Linked DNA regions of Homo sapiens: regions 1 and 2 are each linked to region 3. Evidence: promoter capture Hi-C in 16 types of primary human blood cells and fetal thymus (Javierre and others, 2016). All regions are on one chromosome and are shown on one strand. The core of a region is centred on a gene start or on the middle of the fragment in contact, and the rest is flanking DNA. Distances in the headings are between cores, read along the strand shown. Region 1 overlaps ARID5B (AT-rich interaction domain 5B). Region 2 has its middle 150 kb from the start of LINC02621. Region 3 holds the start of ARID5B (AT-rich interaction domain 5B).

The links. The method cuts DNA at HindIII sites, captures the fragments that hold promoters and counts their contacts. A CHiCAGO score of 5 or more calls a contact.
Region 1: a contact is called between a fragment that was not itself captured here and the fragment with the promoter of ARID5B in region 3, in 3 of 17 cell types (activated CD4 T cells, non-activated CD4 T cells and naive CD4 T cells). The highest score is 8.2, in activated CD4 T cells.
Region 2: a contact is called between a fragment that was not itself captured here and the fragment with the promoter of ARID5B in region 3, in 1 of 17 cell types (total B cells). The highest score is 6.2, in total B cells.

What each region holds. Positions count from the first base shown.
Region 1 is chr10:62,070,006-62,074,230 of GRCh38, forward strand. The region is part of intron 8 of ARID5B (AT-rich interaction domain 5B); the gene reads left to right. Among named protein-coding and RNA genes, the nearest start is that of ARID5B, 170 kb to the left of the region's middle. RefSeq lists an enhancer at 1,972-2,111. The HindIII fragment of the contact is 2,064 bases long and covers 1,705-3,768 here.
Region 2 is chr10:62,109,576-62,113,853 of GRCh38, forward strand. No RefSeq gene overlaps it. Among named protein-coding and RNA genes, the nearest start is that of LINC02621, 150 kb to the right of the region's middle. RefSeq lists enhancers at 177-226, 257-326. The HindIII fragment of the contact is 2,699 bases long and covers 204-2,902 here.
Region 3 is chr10:61,899,127-61,903,634 of GRCh38, forward strand. It overlaps ARID5B (AT-rich interaction domain 5B), which reads left to right and starts at 2,573. Exons shown (of 10, transcript NM_032199.3): 1 at 2,573-2,604; 2 at 3,033-3,287. The coding sequence starts at 2,584. RefSeq lists silencers at 1,095-1,264, 4,005-4,324 and an enhancer at 2,263-2,765. The HindIII fragment of the contact is 3,094 bases long and covers 264-3,357 here.

The DNA of each region.
Region 1 (4,225 bases), core at 1,487-3,986, 170 kb after region 3:
GGTTCTGTCATGTGACCACCTGCCTGACAATGCCTTTTTTTTTTTTCCCCACAAGCATAGATTACTCAGGATGTTCTCTTTAGGCTCTCTTAACATGAGAACCTTTAGCTTCTGAAAAATCTGCAATGCTACTCTGAGGTTGACATTGAAAAGTAAGCACTTCTCATAATATTAGCATTGAAAAGTAAGGATTTCTCATAGTAAGAGAAATGGCCCCAGATCAAATCTGTTGTTTTATTTCATCCTGGTATTTTTCTTCTACGGAATCTTCTTACCAAGCTCTGTGTGGCTTGGTTTTCTAACAATTTCAGCCTATTTCAGAAAGATGATGAGGATGCAAACAAGAAGTAATGCAAAATTAGCCTACTATGTTGCATCCACAGGAGTGGATTTCCCGTTTGCATTAGGACTCCATTATTCACACCGTTAAAGACCAGTTAGCAGATTAATGCATTATCCCTCTATGCTTCAAGCCCATACTTAATTTGTTTAGGTCATTACCAACTTCCTTATAACTGGCATTTCCCTTTGGGTCTTATACGTACATCCTCAGGCAATACCATTTAACTCATCAATTCTTAGTCCTTTTTTTCCAAGTTCAATTTTACTTTTATCTGTATTGCATTTAACTCAGCTTTAGTATGGCCGTTCAACAAGAATGTTTTTGTAATAATAAATTGAATTGGGTTTAGTACACCATGAAAAATTGCTACAAAGTATTCCCAAAGGATTGCCTTACTTGGCAGGGTTGTAATTCAGAAGGATTTTTAAAAATTGATAATAGATGTTCAAATTATTACTCTTTATAGCATTGTTTTTCAATACAACACATCAATTTTTAAAATATGTTATTTCTGTCAGTGTTTAATACAAAAACTCACCCATTCTCACTGTATGTATAAGGTACACCACTGATGTCCTAGTACAAAGTAGCACTGATATCTCAGGTGAGTGTTCCGAAAATAATGTCTAAGGAACCACAGGCTACTTGTTTTTGACTTATGAGTCAAGGCTTCATTCAGAACTTTTTTTTTTTTTTTTTTTTTTTTGAGACGGAGTCTTCCTCTGTCACCAGGCTACAGTGCAGTGGCATGATCTCGGCCCACTGCAACCTCTGCCTCCCAGGTTCAAGCGATTCTCCTGACTCAGTCTCCCAAGTAACTGGGACTACAGGCACGTGCTACCACGCCCAGCTAATTTTTGTATTTTTAGTAGAGACGGGGTTTCACCATGTTGGCCAGGATGGTCTCGATCTCTTGACCTCATGATCCACCCACTTCGGCCTCCCAAAGTGCTGGGATTACAGGCGTGAGCCACCACACCCAGCCAGAACATTTTTACTAGAAACTCTGTCCCTGTTTTCAAATAGATTCTGTTTTGAGAGTGGACATCCCTGTCCTTTATATGCAAATGCCCTCAACACCTGAACCATCAAACATAAAGGAGCAGATAGCAATTAAAGCTTGAAAAAGGAGTGTATCTCAGCTGTTAGCTCATCTAGTTAAAGAATGAAAACATCAATCAAATTAATTACAAAGTATCACATGGTAAAAAAAAAAAAAAGAGAGAAGGTTTGGCATGGAGAGAAGGACTCAACCCATAGTAGTGTGTGTGTGTGTGATTGAGCAGGTCTGTGAATAAAAGTAGGATTCTTCTGAAGATTGTGTACTTTTGATTATTTACTTCTTTCAGGAGATTCCTGAAAGCTTTCAATCACATTAGAAAATTTTAGTAGATATACCACAAACTTTAGCAATTAAGAAACATGATTAAAGATGTCTTAAAATTTTTCTCTTCTCTCCCTATTCTTGGGACCAGATTGGATATTCCATAAAGGTTTGCTTTCTCACTCGATTAAACTTTTTGAAGAGTGGTGTCACTTTTCCAAATCCAGAATTTGGTCAGTGTATGAGTCAGGGTGCAGTAAGGAAAATGGAAACCACACTGGGTATTCAACAAAGAGACTTCACCATAGGCAGTTGCTTAAACAGGGGTTGGTGTGAGGCACTAAGTTAACACGGGGGCAACAACTGTAAGTTCCCTAGGGTGACAGAACAGAGAAGAGAGGTTGGTTGTCACCACCCAGAAGTTTGGAGAATGTGCCTCAGAGCTGGGGTTCAGGTCCCTGGTAAGAAGGAGTCACCCAACCAGCACTGATGCTTCGGGAGCTCAGAGGTGGAGCACTGCAGAGCTGGGCTGAAACCTGAGGAGGCGGTGCTCCCTGGCTGCTGCCAGACCTCAGAGGACACGCGCTGAAACTGCTGGGGGACTGTTGAAACTAGAGGCTGCAACCCACTGCTGCTGTTAATGCATTGTGGAGTTGACACTTATGTGAACAAGTGAAATGGAAAGGAGATTCCTTTTCTCTCCCTGCCTCCCAGGACACACTGTTTGCAGAATAGTAACAGGAAGATAGCTGACAAAAGGGATGTGTAATTTACAGAATTCCAGTCCTAGCATCAGCAAGCAGAGTACAGAAGGGTGGATTTGGAGTTGAAAGACAATAGGCCATCCGCCAAGTGGGAACCCCATATGCAGAGCCCATTTTATGTGTGGCAACACCAAAAATTGGCAGTGTGGAGCCTCCAACTGTGTTGTTGGAGCATAGCTGTCCCAGGGTGATTAGCAAGGTCCTTTACCTTTCCTTGGTATTTCCTTTTTGCCATCTAGACTCCTCTCACATCCTTGTGATCAGATGCAACCGCTAACTACCAAAATTTGAAGATCATTGATTTTATTTACAACAGTGCCTCTCTCAATGTTCAATCAATCATTCTCCAAGAGGAATCACCCATAATCCTATGTGTTGTGGTGGGGAGAAAAAGCTAGGATTACCGTTCTAGATGTCTTCCTTTTAATTGGTTCTACCAAAGAAGGGCAGAGGACATGCACATATATCCAAGAAGAGACTGAAGCTCTGGGCTAAAACTTCATGATTATGGTGGATTTCATTCATTCTTGCTAGTCACAGGTTGCATGAACAGATAAAACAGAGATGACTGGATTGGTGAAGGAACACTGTTTTCAAGAAGGGTCAATGAGTTGAGAATGGTCAGGACTTTGTGGGCAAATATCTAGTCTGGAAATGCCCTTGGAATTTTGTAAAGCCTTCCAAACCAAATCAGGATGATGAGAGCTCTTCCTACTAGGCTGCGGGTTCTTCTGTTCTCATTCTTTTCACTCCGATAAAGAGAACTGCTCTTTTTCCTATTTCCCTGCCACCAGCTTTGCTTTCCTAGAAGATGAAGAAGTGAGTGATCTCTATGCATTATCCACTGATTTATTTTTCATGCACTGTGGTTCATGTTTCCAGTAAACGTTTTCATTTTACAACAAGAAAAATGTAGCCAGTTCCTCAGTAAAATGTTACTTGTATATTAGTTGAGCACTTTTGGTTTATTAATGAGTGCAATAATGAAAGTGTGGGTTGTTGAAAAGAATCAATGGGTGTTTTTATTTAAGGCAAAGCAGAAATGGTACAATGCTTGTGAATACATCATTGTCACTGAAGGCCTGACTCGTACAAACTTGCCTCTGATTGGTTTAAATCAAATAGGTCCAAGCACTTCATAAAAATGTCTTTGTCAGCCGGGTTTTGCTTCCAAATCTATTCATCTCTGTCAGTTTTTAATATTAGTACCAGGCTCCTGGCCATAGTCCATTAGTACTGTACTTAATTGCTCATGTTACAGATGATTACCAATATAAAAAGCATTAATGTTTTCCCATCGCAAGGCTGTTGCTATGTAGATGTCTCAAACTCAGCAAAGCTTATGAAATGTGGTTATTCTGGACATTTCTTGCTCAGGATTTATAGATGAAGTTACTGTAGCTTTTGATGCAAAGAAAAATACCCACCTCATTCTTTCTAAGTGGAACATTTTCTTTCTTGTCTAACTCTTTACTTAAAAGTAACCAGTTCACTTTATTTTTATCAGTAAAGGAACAAAAAGGAAAACGACTACTTTTATGGAATTCTCTTAGCTTGATTTTCTGGAATAGTAAATCACTTTAAAGGCTTTGTTTTCACATGCAGATTTCCCTTTTTAAAAAATGTTTTTAAAGTCCATGCAGGGGGAAAAAAATCTTTACTCAGAATGCTAGATTACTGGTTTTAATTTTCCTGAATAAATTACATGGTCTGTTTCTGTGGAGCACATGAAGTTGTTATTAGGGATTTTAAAAGGAGCATTAAAGCAAAAGTACTTTATGATGTGCATTTTTG
Region 2 (4,278 bases), core at 303-2,802, 210 kb after region 3:
TTTTTCTTCTTTTGGGAATGTGGCCATGAGGCTGCAGGTGGAGTCGCCATCTTACAACCAGTGGCAACATGTCTGAGGGTGAAAGTAACATGCTAAGGAGGGCACAGTGGAACAGAGCAAAGCTGAGTCTCCCCTGACATCCCTGGGCCACTACACTAGGCCTGATGATGCTCATCTACATGTTTCATTATGTGAGAAAAATAAGCTTCCCATTTGTTTAAGGTGCTATTAATGGGATGTTCTGTCATTTGCAGCCAAATCTGCTATTAAATGGTTAACATGGTGTTAAGAGGAAGTGGCTCTGATATAACAGAAAGTGCATGGGCTTTGGAATTGCATGATTTGGCTTCAAATTCTAGTACTGTGACTTATATACCAGGGTAAGTTATCACTTAACTTTTCTGGGTCCTTGTCTCCATAAGTAAAAAAATAGGGCTAATAAAGCTACTCAAACAGATGTCTGCAGTATCCATAGAAAGGGGAAGTGAAAGTAACTGTATATAATAAGTTCCAGCTCAATAAATATCTGATACAACTTTGTTGAGAATGTGGAAGGACATTGAGGAAGTGAGGCTTAGCTGGAATACAAATAAAGCAAGAGGAGGCAAAATGTAATTCAGAAGAAGTAGAGTATGGGAAAAGATTGAGAAATTTCAACAAAAAGGTGTAGTAGGCAAATCATCTTGTCTCTTTAAATAGACCTGAAATCTAGTCTCCCATAGAAACCTCAGGCCGAATGCAACTGTGGCCCAGAAGAATGAGAGAAGAAGGTATCCTTTAGCCCAGGGCTGGAAACCCTCCAGAGAATTCCCAACACCAAAAAGGAAAGAAATATCCTCATTAACATTTCCCTTCTCGTCTTCCTTGTTCCTTTTTCTGCTTTTCCTCCCTCCCTTCCTTTTTTCCTTTTTCCTTCTTTCCTAGATCAAAATTATTTCAAAACCATGGAAGGCAGACACAGTTTGTTCTGACTCACAGTGGATAGAAGATAGGGCCTGGATTTTACACCTTCTAATCTATTTTAGACACAAAGAAAATTTCTGCATTCTCCTATTCCCTCCCGCAAAGAAAAGGCATCACAATGTAGCCCCTGGATGTCAAATAAAGAGTCAGGAGCCCTCGGTCCTGCTCTGTGTATGTTCTTGGATGGTCTCCTAACCTCCAAATTTCAATTTTCTCATTTATCAATTGGGAGTATGAGGAAGGGGGCGGGCAATAGGGGAGGAGCTACCTAGGTAAGCTCTCAAGTTCCTTAACTTCTATTTATTAGCTTCTTGCAGTCCCTGGGGCGATAAGAGAAGGTTAAATTTCTCATTAATCCTATAAATATCTATGGAGCACCAACCCTGTACCAGGAACTGGTTTAACCACCGGAAATACTACTATGAAAGAAATAGATGGCATCCTATATCTTGATGAAGGAGACAGAAAATAAACACACAAACAAAGAAATTGGACAATTTCAGAGAAGCAGTGAAGAAGAAAATACAACTAAGTGATGGAATAGACTGACTGGGAATGAGGGAGCTACTTGAAAAGAGATGGGTCAGGGAAAGTCCTCAATGCGATGTAAACTTTGTGCTTAGCTGAAATGAAGTGCCAGCCTTGCCCCTCTCCTGGCAGGACTCCGGCCTGATCTTTGGGTACTCAGACTCATTCTCAGTGCAAACTTGTTTCTTTGAGCCTCTTGGTTCCTGAACAATATCCCCAGTCTATGATCTTAATGGGCTCACACTATGGGTCTACATGGCCCATTGGAATATTCAAAGTGGGTACAGTCAATCCCCACAGTGGCCAAAGGAGAAAATAAGGAAGCCAGGAGCTGTGCAAGCCAGTCCAGGAAGACAGGCAGAATATAATGCATTTCTGTTTAATCTACTTTTTATCTCATCTTTTTGATTTTTTTAAGTGGGGATAGGGTTTTCTTTACAATGAATATGATATATTGCGTGCATAACAATAATAGTGTATACGTAACAGTGCTTGCTGGTACTTAGACATTGTTCAAAGTGCTCACATGTATGAACTCATTTAATTTTCATGACAACTTTATGAGGTACATACTGATATTTTCCCCATTTTACAGACGAAGGAACAGAGGCACTGCCAAGTAAGTGATTTGCCCAGCTTGTGAGTTGCAGAGCTGGGACTTGGAGCTAGGTAGTCTGATACCACAGTAACTTCTTTTAACCAATTATGCTGTGCACCTTCATGTATGAAATGTGTTTGTTTTAAAGGATATCTGTAGTTTACTGGAGATTCAAGTCCAAAATTTTTAGAACTCTTTTTTCAAAAATACTGGTGAGTGTGACAGTGTCCACAAAGTCAGACAGACCCAGGTTTCAATCCCTATTAAAAAAAAAATATTGGCCAGGCGCAGTGGCTCACACCTGTAATCCCAGCACTTTGGGAGGTCGAGGCGGGCAGATCATGAGGTCAGGAGATCGAGACCATCCTGGCTAACACGGTGAAACCCCATCTCTACTAAAAATACAAAAAATTAGCCGGGCGTGGTGGCGGTCGCCTGTAGTCCCAGCTACTCGGCAGGCTGAGGCAGGAGAATGGCGGGAACCTGGGAGGTGGAGGTTGCAGTGAGCCGAGATTGCGCCACTGCACTCCAGCCTGGGCGACAGAGCGAGACTCCATCTCAAAAAAATATATATATATATATATATATTCATGACATTTGTTAAAGACAGTAAGCCAGACTATTCAAGGGAGACTACTACAATGGAATTTTGCCAGGGGGGAGAGATTGGCCTCAACTCTGAATACAACAATGAAAAGTAGAGATTTATAGCCAAGGGGCAGGGTAGGGTCAGTGGATGGAAAATTACTAACAGTAAACATTTTATAAGGGTAAACAAGGGGTAAGGCAGATTCTGGCTAAACCTACTTGACAAGCTTCTTGCTGAAGGAAGGCCAGGGTGAAAAAATATCCAGAGATGGGGATGAGGAATTTCATCAGATATCAAGGGTGGGGGATATTTGCTAAACTGACCCAACAGGATTCTTACTAAAACTGGACTAAATAGGCCAAGGACAAAGCCTTCAGGGTGAGGCCTCATCAAAAAGATGACTCAGAGGAGCCTGATTAAAGTTTGGTTAAGGAGAGAATCTTGGTTATCCCCAACATTGTTGCCTCCTAGCTGTGTAAACTTGAGTGGGTTAACTAACCTCTCTGAGCTTCAGATTTCTCATCTTGAAAGTAGATATTATACTATCTCCCCTACACATTGTAAGGACTAAATGAAATAATGCTCAATAACTACAGGTTGAATGTCTCTAATCAAAAAACCTAAAATCCAAAATACTCCAAACTCCGAAACCTTTTGAACACTGACATGATACTCAAAGGAAATGCTCGTTGAAGTATTTCAGATTTCGAATTCTTTGGATTTGGGATGCAGAATCAGAACGTATATGTAATGTAAATATTCCAAAATCTGAAACATTTCTGGTCCCAAACATTTCAGATATGGGATACTCAACCTGTACTTAGCACATGGTCTGATCTAGTAAGCATTACCAATATCACTGTTAATGTGAAAGCTCTTGCCAGGGAATCAAGTCATTCCTGATGAAACCGAGCACTTGAAACTCTTAAATGCCACTGGTAAGAGTACAAGTTGACACAGCATTACTTCCGTGCAGTTTTGTGGTATCTATCAAAACATAAAACGTGGCACTGAGTCTCTGGATTCAACAATTTCTTTCTGGAAATGTATCTGAGGAAATAATAGCACAAGGGCACAAAGACATGTGTCTGAGGATTTCCAGTGCATCATTATTTAATATAAAAAACTTGGAAGATAACCTAAATGTCCAGCAGTAGGAGATTGGTTAAATACATGATGGTATTCATAAAATATATTCAATGATAAGTCAGTACAACAAAAATATATTAAGTGCAAAAAGAAGGTTACAAAATATTAGGTTAGTGCAAAAGTAAAAGCAACTGTGGTTCTTGCCATTAAAAGTAATTACCACAATTACTTTTGCATCAGCCTAATAATACAAGTAATATGTTCCCATTTTGTAAAAACAGAATAAACAATAAATGTAATTAATACAAAATGTCTGTGTTTTATGTATAGGCATATGAACATAAAGATAAACACCAAAATGTTACCAGCACAGATAGTCCCTCACTTACAATGATTTCATACAGGATTGTTTTTACTTTACGATGCTGCGAAAGTGATATACATTCAGTAGAAATCATACTTCAAGTACCCATATAACTATTCTGTTTTTCACTTTCAGTCAGTATTCAAT
Region 3 (4,508 bases), core at 1,323-3,822:
ACCAAAGACAGTAGAAGTAGCTTAGATGCTGTAAAGAGCTGTATAATTTTTTAAGAAAGAGATTTAATATACAATTGAGGGATACCCTCAGGCATTCTGTTGAGGTTTCCTGCATAAATGCTGCTGCATTGGTCATACAGGAAACTGACTCAGAGTCGATCTCAAATACGATCTTGTCAAAATACTGCAACTCAAGTTTTTTTAATATAGGATTTCTTGAACTGGATGTATATATTTACGCTAACACGACAGAGACTAACAGAAGCTTTAGGCATATCTATTTTTAAAAAAGACATGTAAAATGCCCCTCAGTCAAGTCCATTCATATGTTAAAAATGAACAAAATGGGCGATTCTAATCAAACGTCTGCAGTATGCATTATAAAGTTAAAAAGAGAGAGAGAAAGCGCAGGAGAGCTATAATTTCTCTTTGTAACCCATGTTTATAAAATAGAAAGATCAGATGAAATTTCAAGAGATAATTAAAGAGTGATGTGCAAGTCATAATTTGGCTAATGTTAAAGATGGGAGACTGCGAATTGTAGTCCTCCATGGTGCAGAGTTGTGATATTACTTTAAATTATTAAAATAGTTTTCGACAGCTTTCAGAATACCGGCTCTTTGGCATGGGCTTTTATTATTTATTGTAATTAGAGGATCTGCCATTTTCTTTCGTTTATCTCTGTGTGTATAGAAACGAGATAGATTTTGCCTTTTATTACTTCCCCATATTCTGAATCAAAAATGTGGTTTAGATAATGTTAAGTGCCCTAATTCTTACTGCAGCGGACGCAGACGTTATGAAAAGGCATAAAAATACACACAGAGGGTCTTTCCACCTCAAGTCACTGAATATGAGGCATTTGTGCTCTGCCGGGTGTATTAACTTCAGCCATGTGAATATAATTTTCATTAAAGTAATCCTGTTTCAACTAGATGCTGTGACTAGAGGTGAAACGTTGCGAAAGCGTTAAAAATAGCTTACTAGTAATTTCAACATCCTGTAATTTTATCACAGATCAAGTTTCAACTGTCATACTATACAGACCTTATTCCCCATATAGTACATGTTTACTTTTTTAGCATGCCAGACCCACTTTGGAAAGATTGGTGCCAATATAATAAAAGCTGGAGGGGGGGTGTGCTGGAAGGAGTGGGAGGAGAGCGGGGAAGGGGGTGGGGGAACGTGGGGGAAGCGAGTACACCATTTTAAATCAACACTGCGAAAATGCAATCTAGCCTGGCGGAGGACCGGCAGCTGGGTCGGAGCTTGCGAGGGCTTTGCAGTCTCTGCCTGTTCCTTGTTCTGTCGCTCTTAAGTTTCTCTGTGTTTGCATAATAGCCGTGCATGCAAACCTCGCAATGCTCCAGGGCTCCAGAACAATAAATATACACATTTAAAGCCTTTATTGTCTTACGGTTCATGCCCCCGGTTTTCAACAGCTTAATTTCTGGTTGTATTTAACTAGTTTGCAAATGGATTTTTTCAGTTTCAAACTATTATTGAGGAAGCTCCCCTCCCTTTTTTGGCGGGGGAGGGGATGGGGGTGGGGTAGGAGTCGGTATATTATTCCTGTAGCGCTGGGTTATATAAACACATTATCATTTGAGAGCGCCCTTGGCGTCCATCAGCATTGTAAACACGTACTAGTGTATATACTTCAAAATTAAAGAATGCACACGCAGAACCGGGAGCCTGAATTCATATTCTGAGCAGACTCGCTTCTCGCATTTATTGATTTATCATGCATCGTTTATTGTTCCAGTCCCTAAATGCAGTCGCTGTCCGTTCAATATTGTTTGCGAAATCCTAAGATGTGTGTGCACTGCTCACTTGTCTCTTTTTTTTTTGCTGAGTATTTTTTTGCGAAGCGAACAAATGCATTAATATTTATATGTTTATATAATCGATAACCCACTTTTCCCTTCCATGTAAATAGGCATCAAAAGATAATTTAACAGATTAGTTCTCGAAAACATGGCAGTGAGGAAGCGTAATTTAACTATCAAACAAATCTACATGTCTAATAACAGCAAATCTGCTAAGAAGCATTAGAAAGAGGAGCAGCGCCCCGGAATCTCTGCAGGAAATGTTCTTTATATTAGACATATACAAGCAGGTCCTGTCAGATGCACAGTGGAGCTCGCTACCCCTCCTCTCCTCCAAAAATCTCATCAGACGATATCCCAGACAGGAGCGGTTAGAGAGAGAGGAATCACATCTCCACACAGTTTTAGGGTGCTTTTTATTTTTACAAATCTTCTTGTGTGTTTTTTGCCTTGATCCATCCTCTTCCCGCCGAGATCGTATGGCGCCTTTCTCTCGATTATGAATTTGATCAATCCATCTTTGGAAGAAAACCCACATAGTTTTTTCAGGAGCTGAAAATTGAGTCGTTATAGAAATATTAGGACATATTTTCAATCATTTCGGTGCCCGAAGGGAGGCAAGAGCTCAGTTTTATATTGAGACATTACGCCGGCTGAAGGCAGAGAATGCGTTTCCCTGCCAGGACCTGATGCAATCCATTCAAGCCAACAAGTTTGGAGAGAATGTTGAGTTCAATCAATTCAGAACGTCGAGATGGAGCCCAACTCACTCCAGGTATTTCGCTCTCCTCCGCTCCTCCGATCCCGGCACCCCCCGGCACCCCCCAACCCCCCAGCTCACCCACACCTCTGCACCCACCCACACCCCCCACAAACTTTTCACCAAACTTTTACCCTCTGCATCCCCCAAAATCATTTTTATTGTTTAAAAAAATCCCTGCACTGATCATACATACATAATGTAATTTTACCGCCTCAAATGGGGAGGTGGGTAGAAGTGGCGGTGGGGGGCCCTGAGTTTTTTTTTTTTTTTTTTTAGGGAAGCAGAAAATTTGTGGGTGCTATTATTTTTCCACCCAGCGTTATATCTGTTGGGTCGTCTGTATTAAGAGAGTGGATGTCTGTGTGTAAATGTGTCTGGGAATAGATGTTTGTGCTCTGATGGCTACATTATTTATTTGGTGTTTTTTTCCCCCCCTGCAGTGGGTCGGCTCACCGTGTGGCTTGCACGGACCTTACATTTTCTACAAGGCTTTTCAATTCCACCTTGAAGGCAAACCAAGAATTTTGTCCCTTGGCGACTTTTTCTTTGTAAGATGTACGCCAAAGGATCCGATTTGCATAGCGGAGCTCCAGCTGTTGTGGGAAGAGAGGACCAGCCGGCAACTTTTATCCAGCTCTAAACTTTATTTCCTCCCAGAAGACACTCCCCAGGGCAGAAATAGCGACCATGGCGAGGTGGTAAACCTGTCTGTCCCCCTCTTCTTTCTTTATTATTTTTCCCCCTAGTAATGCTTATTACAGGGCAAGCTTGAAAATACTGTATTCACTTCTGCAGGCAAGCAGGATCGACTCCTTTTTTAAAGGGGTAGCGCCACTAGCTGGGGCTCGAGTATTTTGCCATTGTCAGAGTTTGGCTGTCAGCTTTACAAAGAGGATCCAACTGCTGATTTTAGTCAAGATCAAATAACTTGTTCGAGAAGGGTTTTGTTCAAGGATGTGTGTGTGTGTGTGTGTGTGTGTGTGTATGTGTGTGTGTGTGTTCATTTGCTCTCCTGCTATTGCCTCTTGAACATCACATGCTTTTTATATTTTTTGCCTTTTGAAAATTTACCTTCGTGTCTGGCTCGGTCGTGTCTGGGTGGATTTCTTTCGGTGGGTTTCGATATTGTTCTTTTTTCAAAGTAAGTATTTGATATGTTTAAGAGGGCGGAAATTACGAAATGGAGGCAGAATGAGATCAAAAGCTATTGAGTTGGCAAAGACGTGTTGAATAAAGTGATAAATGACAGGTACTGGAATAATACATTCAAATAACTTGCAGATCTGCCCGGGCGGATTTCAAAGCGGTGGTGTAACAGGCACAAACACGTTAAGCATTAACAACTATCTCTCGCCCACTCCCCCTCCCCCCGGACAAGCCATTTGATGTTCTAGTTTGCAATTACTCCACGCAAAGTGGACGTCCTCCTGCGCGATCTTTGGGGGTGTGTGGGACGGGGGCGGGGGAGGGGAGGGCAGAGGGGTGTGTGCTCGCCCACTGGCCCTGCGGGTCCAGCGTTCTCCGTGCCCAGACGGCGCTCCCGGGGAGGGCGGGGAGGGGACAGAGCCTCCCCGGCACGTTTCTGGGCGGCCGCGGGGGCGCTCGCCGCGCTCCCGGGAGGACGCCGGAGGTGAGCCCGCTGTCACTGGGCGCCGGGGCGGCCGCCTCCCTTCGGCTCTGTCATTTCATGTGTGACCGCAGTTCTGCGGGCTCCCCTCCTCAGCTGACCGACCTCAGCGCCGTGGTACCTACCGAGGGGAACTATTTTGGGGAGTCTGTGCCCACGGCGCAGCGGGGAGGGAGGGCGCACTGCCGCCTGGCGAGGCTTTGTGTTGCCAAAGCGAGAGCAGGGTAATCAAACAGACTTTTGAGGGCAGCTAGTGCTGTGCCAGGCTCTCGAGCTTTCGAGGTAGGTG